Linked DNA regions of Homo sapiens: region 2 is linked to region 1. Evidence: promoter capture Hi-C in 16 types of primary human blood cells and fetal thymus (Javierre and others, 2016). All regions are on one chromosome and are shown on one strand. Each heading gives the region's core, a stretch centred on a gene start or on the middle of the fragment in contact. The rest is flanking DNA. Distances are from core to core; before and after follow the strand shown.

Region 1 (5,495 bases), core at 1,040-3,539:
TTCTCTGCCTTCCTGTGAGTCGGTTTCATTTTCCCCACACTCTCCACAGCCCCAGGCTTTCATCTCATGCTTCAGCAGGGGAAGCCTCTTGGGATGGTGTCTTGTTGGGTTTACTTAGGTCTCCTGAACCAGTCCCCTTGGCTGGCCAGGCCTGGTCAGGTGCCCACTCCTGACCCTGGAGGTGGATTGAGTGCAGAGGGTTCTTCTCAGATGGAGGCAGGGCAGGCAGGACCCAAGTTGTCCACGGTACCTGTTGAGCACTTCCTGGGTGTGGGTGGGTGCCTCTGGGGAGAGAGGCGCTTGTGGCACTCTGCAGTGGCCATCCTGTGGGAAGCCAGCAGCCTGAAGCCACCCCAGAGCATGAACCACACAATCCTAACTTTCCTGGGGCAGAGGTGAGGGTTGGGGGAAGCCTCCGGGCTCCTGCTGGGGACTAGCTGCCTTGGAGGTAGAGAGTCAGCCCCCAGCCCTGCTCTGGCCCAGGACCCTGAAGCTGCTCCCCCAGCCCACTCAGGGCTTGAGGCCCCTGTGCTGTCCCCTGCTGTGAAGGAGTCAAGAAAATAGAAATCCTTGTACCCTTCGTCCACAAGCTGGGGTTGGCCCCTGGCACCTCAGCACGGAGTCTAGGACCTTCACAGTGGCAGCAGGTGCCAGAGAGGAAATTTCAGGGAGGGTTGGCCAGAGAGAGAGGCCAATGGCACCAGCTAGGGCCGTTTTTTTCCTTTTTTTTTTTTTTTTTTTTTTTGAGATGGAGTTTTGCTCTTTGTTGCACAGGCTGGAGTACAACAGCATGATCTTGGCTCACTGCAACCTCTGCCTCCCAGGTTCAAACGATTCTCCTGCCTCAGCCTCCAGAGTAGCTGGGATTATAGGTACCTGCCATCATGCCTGGCTCATTTTTGTATTTTTAGTAGAGATGGGGTTTCACCATGTTGGCCAGGCTGGTCTCGAACTCCTGACCTCAGGTGATCCACCCGCGTTGGCCTCCCAAAGTGCTGGGATTACAGGTGTGAGCCGCCACACCCGGCCTTTCTTCTTCTTCTTTTTTTTTTTTTGAGACGTTTTCTTCCCTTTCTCCACTGCTTGGGGGTAGGGTGGGGCCTGGGGCCCTATCTGTGCCCACTCCCCCCAGTGTCTGTTGTAGTGTACGTGCCACATCCCTTTGAGGGGCTGCCATTAGTAAGTGCCTGCTGTGTACCAGGTGTGGTCAGCACCAGTGCGTGCAGAGATGAGCACTGGCCCTGTGGTGTGCAGACTGGGATGCGTGCAGGACACGCTAGCCCTGTGGCATGAGGACCAGCACCTGAGCATGCAGAGATGAGGACGAACCCTGCGGTTCAGCTGGGAAGACAAATCCACCCGCACATGGGTACCGCCCCCCCACCCCACACAGCCAGCGTGAAGCATGCCACTGCTCTGACCTCTGTCTAGACACTTGGCGGCGGGGGTGGGGGGCGGCTGACAGGTACAGCTCTGTGCCCATGTGTGTGTACATGCGAATGCCCCTTGCAGTGTGATGTGGTCTGAGTATGTGGATGAGTGCCTGCGGGCACATGTGTATGCGTTCATGTCTGTGCACGTGTCCAATGGGGCTTTGTCAGTATGTGAGAAGCGTGTGCAGGTGTGTCTACTGATGCCTGTGTGAAGTGGTGTGTGGATGTGCACGGGAGCGTGTGTGCCGCGCTGTGCTCAGGTGTGTACAGGTGTCTAATGATACGTATGTCTGCGTGCATGTATCTGTGTGTACCTGGGTATCCTGGGCGTGTGTGTGTCCATGTGTGCATCCCACGTGCCCCTGTGCCCATGCGTGTGCATGTATACTTACATCCACGTGTGCTAGTGGAATGACATGTGTGTGGCTGGTTCCTCTGGCGTGTGCCGAGCCATGGTGGGGCAGGCAGGCAAAGGTCCCTGTCTCAGGCAGCCCTCGGGAGTGGGTGTGAAGGTCCCCAGTGCTCAGGCGTCCCTGAGGCTTCCAGCTGAATCTTTCTGTCCCTCCTAGGCGTGGCTGTGGGAATCCTTGGGGCGCCTTTGGGTTCCAGGAAGCTGGGGCTGTGTGGGCCGGGCTGCTAACTGGGGCTGTGGAGCAATCTGCCAGCCGAGCCCCTTCCGGAGCTGTGGGTTCCTCTGGGTGTGGGGAAGCTGCCCTCCACAACCTCCTCGGCCTATCTTGGTGCCTCCTGGAGTGCAGGACACACCTCCCAGCTCTGCAGCCTCACCCACAGGAAGCTCGGGTTGGGGGCAGGCGAAGAGGGAGGTGCCACGCTGGGCTCCCCGCCCTGCACCGGCACTGACCCCGCTGTACCACGGCCCTCTTGCGGACAGCCCCGGGGACGTCGTTGGGACATCGCTGGGACCCCGGGCTCTGCAGCCACAACCATGTTTGGCCGGAAGCGCAGTGTCTCCTTTGGGGGCTTCGGATGGTGGGTGACAGGTGGGAGGGTGGGGGAATGATGGGAGAGAACTTAGAAGTGAAGTCTTGTTAAGTGCATTGGCGGCCGTGGGAACAGAGGGGCTCGGGCTGTGCCTGAGAGCTGGGTCTGCTGACGCCCTGGCAGGTCGAGATGCAGGATCCTGGTGGGGACATCAGAGACCGTAAGCCTTCCCCACTGTCCCTGGGCACAATCTGCTGGCGAATCCTGGAGGTCTGCGCCGGCTGCCCGTGGGGAGGTGGATAGCATGAGTGTGACTGCAGTTGAATGTGTGTGTCTCTGTGTCCGCAGGTTCCCATGTATGTGTGTGCGTGTCTGGGATTATGTGTAAGTGTGTGTGTGCGCGTTTGAGCCTGTGTGTGCAGGCGTGTGTGTGTGGCTGTGACTGCCAGTCCGTGTGACCGTGTGTGAGGTGTGTGCCTGTGCATGTGGGCAGCTGCCTGTCTGCACTTCTGGCCTTCTGTGTCTGTGTGTGCTTGTGTCTGCGTGTTTGTGTGTGTGATGCTCCTGTCTGTGCTGTTGTTGTGGCCTTGTGGCAGGGGAGTCTGTACCTGCTGGACCTCTGGGCTGCCTGCTGTCTTGGGGGTGGGTTGTGAGAGAAGGTCTCCCACCTGCACCCCAGGCAGCCCACCCTAGCTCTGTCCTAGCCTGAGCAGCTGCATCTGTCCCCAGCCTCCTGCCTGGCCCTCTGGACACTCTTGCCTCTAAGCTTCTGTCTGGGATGAGGGATGTGCTTTTTCTTCCCGGCGGGGGGCAGAAGGTAGGCACACGAAGGCCAAAGGCTTGTCTCTGGTTCCCAGTGCTGGCAGCTTCTTCGCAGCTGGGGAACAGAGTCTGGTGGTTTTCATGATCGGTTTCCTTTCAGTGCCTGGGCTGGGGGCGTTGTCAGACTGGGAGAGGGCCCCGCGGGAGGTGGCCGGGGGGTGTCCCGGTGTGGAAAATGGTGGACTAATGGGGGTGGCACGAAGGGCGAGGGGGAGAGGGGCTGTGTTCCTCGGTAATTTTTCGCTTCCGTGTGTGTGGCTTATTTCCCTCTTCCTCCTCTTCAAAAGCACTTTGCCATCCATCCTCTGGCAGGGGGGGACTGTGGGCACTCCATGTTTGGCAGATGGGATGGTGCGGATGAGAAGATGGCACAGCGTCGCCTGTGTCTGCTCTCGGGCCCTCCCTGACGCCTGGATCTGGGAGCTGCCACCCCGAGGGTAGGTGCCAGTGTCCGGGAGGCAGCAGAGGACTTGGCTTCTGGTTGGGAGGGGTGTGTGTGTCTTGGCTGTGGGCCTTGCAGGGCAGGGCCCAGCAATTAGATTGTGCCCTCCAAGGCCCGCCTTTCTCTGGGAGGTGTGGAGCAGATGGAAGGCTGGTCGCCAGAAAGCTCCGGGTGCACAGGTCCCGGTCTCAGCCTAGCTTCATTCCATATGAAGCCCTCTGTGTTGAGACCCACAGCTCCAGAGCACAAGGCAAAGCCAGGCCTGAGATTTGAATCTGGGCAGGTGAGGGGGAAGACAGGAGTGTGGCTGCCCAGGGCTGCCAAGATAGAAAGCAGAATTCCAAGTTCTTCTCTAGCAGCCCTTCTCACTGGGGCTTCCTTAATGAAATGCACATTCAGATTCAGGAGGTCTAGGGTGAGCCGAAGGTGGAGGAAGAGCCCTAGGATGTCCCAGACGCCCTTGTGTGCTGGCTCAGTGTCCACTAGGCTGTGGGTTCCAGGAGGGCAGGCCCTGCCCCGTCGCGTTCACCTGGAAGCCTGGCATGTCACACAGGCTCAGTCGATGCTTGTGGACTCATCGAGGTCTTTTGCACACAGCAGGTGTCTGCTTGGGGCCCCTTGAGGTTGACGGGATGGCGGGGCCTTCTGGGCTTGGAAGGTTAAGGCAGCAAGAAAGGGGGCGAGACTGGGGTTTGGGCCTCCTCATCTGGGATGGCTGTCAGCTGGGAGGGGGTGTCACGGATTCCTGGAGCCCTGGTCCCTCCAGACAGTGAACAGAATCTCTGGGGCTGGTGTTTTCCAAGCTCCATTGGATGCAGGGTGGATAACCTCTGGCACCAGGGGCAGACAAGGTGATGAGGGTGGGTGGGATGGGATGGGAGAGGGAGGAGTGCCCAGGAGCCTTGGCTTCCTGAAAGGGAAAGGCCCAGCCTCACAGTCCTCTCCATCTCCCATCTCAGCCTCTCCAAAACCAGAGCCCTGCCCTCCTGAGGCCACACCCTGATGTGGGAACTCTGGTGGGCTGGCTGCTGTGTAGGCGTGGTTTGAACCAGGGCTGCTGTGACCACGGTGCCTGTAGGTGGTGCGGTGGGCGGGGCTGACCCGACAGCGGTCAGAGGTGCACGCACCAGGAGCCCCGGTTCCAGCGGTTCCAGCGCCGACTCCACCTTGACCATTGAGGAACTCTAATGGGACACTTCCTCTCTCTGGGTCTCAGTTTCCCCTTGTGTCAGTGGGGGATTTCTGCCTTACCCACAACACAGGGCTGTTGTAAGAATTAGGAGATTCCTTGAGAAAATGTAAAACCTAAGCGCCTGCTGTGAGGGGCTGCCATCCGGCAGCTCTGGGTTGCACGCGTTACAGCAGAGTGTGGGGCTCTGAGTCCTGCTCGGATCTGGGTGTCTGTGCGTTGAATGGGGGAAGAGGAGGGTCTGCACCCCAGAGCGGGTGGGGATTCCAGGGTGAGACCCTCAGGGACCAGTAGTGGAAGCCCTAAGGAAGGGACTCAAGAGGACGTGTGAGGAAGAAACTGGGAGAGACGTGGGCCAGGCCCCTCGGGGTGCCGCTTGCTTTGCTGTTGTAACTGAGATCAGAAGGTGCTGGGAGTTTACTCAGAGTGAAAGGACCCCGTCCCCTAGCTCCAGGCCTCAGGGTGACTTGTGGGCTGGCTCAGCTCCGTGTCCTCTCCTCTTCCCTGGAGCTGTGACTGTGGGAAGCCTGAGGCAGCGCTGGGCTGGCCAGAGAAGGGTGCCGGAAAGAGCCTCCAGGGTCTCCAGCATGCTGGAGCCAGTGGCAGTTTTAGTGAAGCTGACAGTGATGGTGACACTGATGATGACATGTGGTGACATGGACAGTGA
Region 2 (5,495 bases), core at 766-3,265, 140 kb after region 1:
TTATGGCAGGAGGGTGTGTGCAGCTGGGTCATGGTCCCCACCTTTTGGGCTGATAAACCTGGCTGAGGGCTAGGCGTGTATGTTTGCCATGAGTGAGTGTTTCTTGTGTGTGTGTGTGTGTGTGTGTGTGTGTGTGTTGGGTGAACGTGACTGTGAATGTTGTGGTTAGTTCTTTGTTGTATCAAGTGTTTTGGATGTCTGTTTGGGGGTGGATATTGTGGGACGCCACGTTGGTGTGAATGTATCTGCAGCTGAGTGATTCCCCCAGCCAGGACAGCGGGGCCGGGAAGGACAGCCCATTGTCCCTACCCTAACCTCGTTAGGGCCTCGTTTGCCCCAGCACCCCCTTCTTCAGCCCCAGCTGGCAAAAGGGGGTGGGGCAATCGTGTTATTTAACATACAGCTTATAGGGAAGAGAGCTGTTGAGCATTAAAGCCCCCATGCGGTTGTTCATGTATAATTAGGCTGTGGGAGCTTGGGGACTGACTGACTGTTAGAATCACTCGGGACCGAAGCACTTATTTAAGTAATCATTAACTGGAAGATGGGAAAGGAACAGAACATGCAATTTGCAGATGTCCCCTCTTCTTGCAGGTCAGCCTGAAATGAAACTCCCAGCAAGTGAGGAGGCTGGCGCCTTGCTCAGCCTTCCTCTTCCCTCTGGTGAGGGGAAGGGCAGGTTAGGGGATGCTGGGGCTGAGTTGGGGTTATGGAGATGGCATCTCTCAGGCACATCAGAAGCACAAGCCCCCCAAAATTTCCAGCTTCTCATGACTCCTTCGCTGACACCGCCCTTTACCCAGCAGCACAAAGATATATAATGATATATTCAGTTCTCAGTCCGGCGCATTTGATCAACACCTGCTCTGCACTAGGCCAGGGACGGCTCCAGCAAAGTCCCAGTAATCCGTTGTCCCAGGTGGAGGAGGATGTTAACAGGAAGAGCCCAGATAATTGAAATTCTGGTTTAGCTCATCTGTAAATCTGCTTTTGCTGCTTCCCAGCAGTGCTGATGTGGTCATGGGGGATGGGACGCTGTGTTTTCCTCCTTCGCGCTGAAGCAGAGGGTGCCTGGCTGGGGGTCTCTAGGCAGGAGCGTGTGGGAGCGGCCAAGTTCTGGAGCAGTTAAGGCTGTTAGTGGTGACGGGGCACCTCATGGTCTCTCTGGGGGACAACTGCAGCCCCAGTGGAGGAGGAGGGAGACTGGCCAACTGCATATCCCATAACAAGTGTGGGACCCGGAGCTCAGGGAGAGGAGAGGGAGGAAGGGTGTTCGGTATGTGGTGTGTGTCTTGGCATATGATGCCTCTTGCTTTGGAAATTCTGTGAGGTTCCATCCTTTTTATTTATTATTTATTATATCGCGCCACTGCACTCCAGCCTGGGTGACAGAGTGAGACTCCATCTCAAAAAAAAAAAAAAAAAAAAGAGGAGCTCGAGACCAGCCTGACCAACATGGTGAAACCCCGTCTCTACTAAAAATACAAAAATTAGCCAGGAGTGGTGGCGGGCGCCTGTAATCCCAGCTACTCAGGAGGCTGAGGCACGAGAATCACTTGAACCCGGGGGAGGCAGAGGTTGCAGTGAGCCAAGATTGCACCACTGCACTCCAGCCTGGCAGCAGAGCAAGACTCCATCTCAAAAAAAGAAAAAAAAAAAAAAAAAAAGAGCAGGGACCACGGGCAGGGTATGGGTTCCATGTCTGGTCTGTGATGTGTTCCCTCTGGATGGGCAAACCCAGAAGCTTCTTCAGCCCCTTTCCTCCTCCAGGCACAGGTCGAGGCTGGGATTGCGGGAGGAGGGGAATGGCACTGGGATCTGGAGTGCCTGGTTCTCAACACTTGCTTGGCAGAGGGGAGGAGGCCCAGTGTCCCCGCGTACAGGGCAGCATGGCTGCGGTTTCCCTCCTCCATGAGCCAGCCAGCCAGACAGTGGGCAGGAGAGGGCGGGAAGAGAGAAGGGCGAGTGGAAGGAAATGGAGTCGTGTGGGCGGGTGAGCAAGTTGGAAAGCGCCTGGTGTAGAGAGGAACATTGTTGGGGAGCAGAGACCACTGTGGAGTGAGGGAGGGGGCCAGCTGTGCCTCTTGACACAGCCAGACACCTGCCCGCCAGGGCCAGTAAAGTGCCTGGTGTAGAGAAGAACCTTGCCTGGGGGGCAGAGACCACCGTGGAGTGAGGGAGGGGGCCAGCCGTGCCTCTGACACAGCCAGACACCTGCCTTCCAGGGCCAGTTAGGAGAGGGTACAAGCTGCGGAGCCCATGGGGCTTTGCATTTTCCAGGGACAAGGAAGCTTGGAGCGAAGCAGAGATTTTCCGGGAGGCCAACACCTCCCTTTTCTCCCACTCTGTCAGCCTGGGGGGCTCTTTATTCCCATTCTTTAGAGAGAGACACGGTGGAGAAGATGGGACCACAGCTGTGGCTGCTGGGTAGACCGAGGCCAAACCAGCCCCCTGCTCACTTTCCTGCCTCTAAGCCTTTGCCTGGGCTGTTCCCTCTCCTAGAATGCCTAACCCTCTAGTTGACCCTGTTACGGACCTGGCAAGGTTAGTCTTGAATAACCTGATGAGATTTCCAGAGCTGCTTTTTTCCAGTTCCCCCACTAAGAGGCTTAGACCTGAAGCTGAGCCCCACTTTGGGGGAAGACTGGAAGTTTCAGGTTGAAGACCGGATCAGGACCAGGAGCTCGGCCAGCTGACGCTGCAAAGCCTGCCTTGGAGAGTCTGTGGCGTAGGAACCTTACGCCTTAACCAGCGTGGGCAGCTCGGAAGCAGGAGCCCCAGTTGTTTCTTGGAAAAATGGGGCCGATTGCCCCAAGGCAGCCACGCCCTTACAGAGCCTCTTGCAAATACCCACAGGGTCACCCGTCTTTGGTCACAGCCACGGATGGCGTCCGTCATCCATGCCTCATCTTTATCCTGTTTGTACTTTAGGTTGGTTCAGTACTTGACTGTTTACAAAGCACTTTTTTTTTTGAGACAGAGTCTTGTTCCGTTGCCCAGGCTGGAGTGCAATGGCACGATCTCGGCTCACTGCAACCTCTGCCTCCTGGGTTCAAGTGATTGTCCTGACTCAGCCTCCTGAGTAGCTGGGACTATAGGCATGGGCCACCATGCTAGGCTAATTTTTGTATTTTTGGTAGAGAGGGGGTTTCACCATGTTGACCAGGCTGGTCTTGAACTCCTGACCTCAGGTGATCTGCCTACCTTGGCCTCCCAAAGTGCTGGGATTACAGGCGTGAGCCACCGCACCCGGCCTTGCAAAGCACTTTCTTGAACTCTTCTGGTTCTTGCAGAAAAGAAGAATGATTTCCCCATTGCGCAGAGAAGAAAATGAAATACTCCTTTTAGCCAGCTGGTAAGACACAAACCTGAGTCTTGAGATTTCAAATCCACTGTTCTTTCTGTTACCCCAAGAAATAATTACTGAGTACAAATAATTACTGAGTGTCTACTACTGTATTTCATTGCTTCGAAGACACTTTCTTCCCTCTCATTTAACAACTCTGAAATCAGGGTGCATCTCATGAGCAATAGCACACCGTAATTTGTAATTGGAAGCATTTTTGCTTTCTTAGCGGAGAACAAAATAATGTGTACCTTCCAGTGGATGTCCTTTTAGTTTGACGAAATCTGGTGCGTGCACAACTGTGGTGTGTGTAAATATGGCCTCTGCCTGCAAGGTGTGCAGTTTAGAGGAAAGATCAGTCTTAGCTATTCGTGTGAAACAGAATATGACGCCTACCAAAACCAACTCGAGTGCCGTGGGAATTCCAGCTGAGGGGCTTCAGAAAAGCTTTAGGGAAGACGGGTGGGATTTGGCCTCTCAGCATCCTGTACCATCTGCATCAACCAGCTGATTTAGACAATACACCCAAGCCCTGTTAGAGTGAAGGCTCAAAACTTGGCCCCTGGAGGCTGACTATGGGTTTGCATTGCCTGTCGTTCTAGATGTTTAACTCTCAGCCTCAGTTTTCTCAGTGACAGAGTGGATGTGATGATAGTGCTTGCCTCACAGGTAGGCGTGAGGATCAGATAAAAGAACATATTCAGGCCAGGCGCAGTGGCTCACACCTGTAATCCCAGCACTCTGGGAGGCCGCAGCAGGTGGATCACCTGAGATCAGGAGCTCAAGACCAGACTGACCAACATGGTGAAACCCCATCTCTACTAAATACAAAAAATAAGCTGGGTGTGGTGGCGGGTGCCTGTAATCGCAGCTACTTGGGAGGCTGAGGCAGGATAATTGCTTGAACCTGGTAGGCGGAGGTTGCAGTGAGCTGAGATTGTGCCATTGCACTCCAGCCTGGGCAATAAGAGTGAAACTCTGTCACACACACACACACACAAAAGAGAACGTCCCACATCTTTAGTCAAGGGTCTGACAGATAGAGTGAGAGATCAATAAATGTCACCCCCCCGCCCCCATCCTGAAATTAATTCTATAAATCCAGTACACGTAGAGCCGGCAGACATTTGTCGTTCGATCACTGTTGCAATGTCAAGCACGTTCACATTTGTGGCCTCATTTGATCTTCGGAAGTGCCGGAGGATGGGGATCATTACTCCAGTGTCACAAAGGAGGCAAGTGAGGCGCGAGGCCTCACAGCTGGCCGGTGACCGGGCTGGGATTCGGAGGCTGGTCTGTCTGACGCTCAGTCCCATGCTCTCTTCACCGGATTGCAGCTGCTGGAGAAAAACCACAAGCAAGGAAGGAAACGCGGCCGATCTGGCGGGTTTGCTCCAGCCGGGGTATTTTATAAATGAATGATCACTGCTGGGCATCCTTAATAGTGGGGTTTCTGGTTTCGAGAGAAGAGAGGTCTCATTTAGAGGCTCAGGAGGCTAATTTGACGGTGGGGAGATGTGCGCAGACCGCCATCTCCTCTCCCTGTCTCCACCTCCAGTGGCCGGTGGCCAGTTTTGCCTCTTTTTTTTTTTTTATTATTATACTTTAAGTTTTAGGGTACATGTGCACAACGTGCAGGTTTGTTACATATGTATACACGTGCCATGTTGGTGTGCTGCACCCATTAACTCGTCATTTAGCATTAGGTATGTCTCCTAATGCTATCCCTCCCCCCTCCCCCCACCCAGTTTTGCCTCTTAAGTACTATTTGTCTCGCTGGCCTTCATGCCTCCTTCTTTGCTTGGTTGCCTCCCCTGGCCATGGAGAGGATGTCAGAGTGTGGTCACACTGGTCTCTGCTCATGACCCTGCCAGGGGCTGTGGGCCTTCTCCGCCAGCCAGATTCTCCTTTGTGCCCTCTGAGGTTAACACAGACAAACGCACTCACCTTCTTCCTCCCTCTTCCTCTCCTTCCTCCCTGCCTCGAACCTCTTTCACTCAGAACACCTGGCTTTGCTAGTAACAGGCTGTGTGACCTTCAGCAGGCCAGTTAACCTCTCTGAGCTTTAGTTACCCTCCCCCGGTGCCCCAAAATGGATGATCATGAGGGTCAAATGGGAGGTGGTAGGAATGGGTCCTGGGCTCTGATA

What was found. Contacts are between HindIII fragments. The CHiCAGO score rates a contact against its expected background, and 5 or more counts as called.
Region 2: a contact is called between a fragment that was not itself captured here and the fragment with the promoter of RAP1GAP2 in region 1, in 1 of 17 cell types (megakaryocytes). The highest score is 5.3, in megakaryocytes.

Annotation. Positions count from the first base shown.
Region 1 is chr17:2,794,149-2,799,643 of GRCh38, forward strand. RAP1GAP2 (RAP1 GTPase activating protein 2) reads left to right here and starts at 2,290. Exons shown (of 25, transcript NM_015085.5): 1 at 2,290-2,423. The coding sequence starts at 2,380. The HindIII fragment of the contact is 10,845 bases long and covers 1-3,139 here.
Region 2 is chr17:2,931,177-2,936,671 of GRCh38, forward strand. All of the region lies in intron 3 of RAP1GAP2 (RAP1 GTPase activating protein 2), which reads left to right. Among named protein-coding and RNA genes, the nearest start is that of RAP1GAP2-AS1, 32 kb to the right of the region's middle. RefSeq lists enhancers at 1-336, 337-1,081, 1,082-1,827. The HindIII fragment of the contact is 547 bases long and covers 1,743-2,289 here.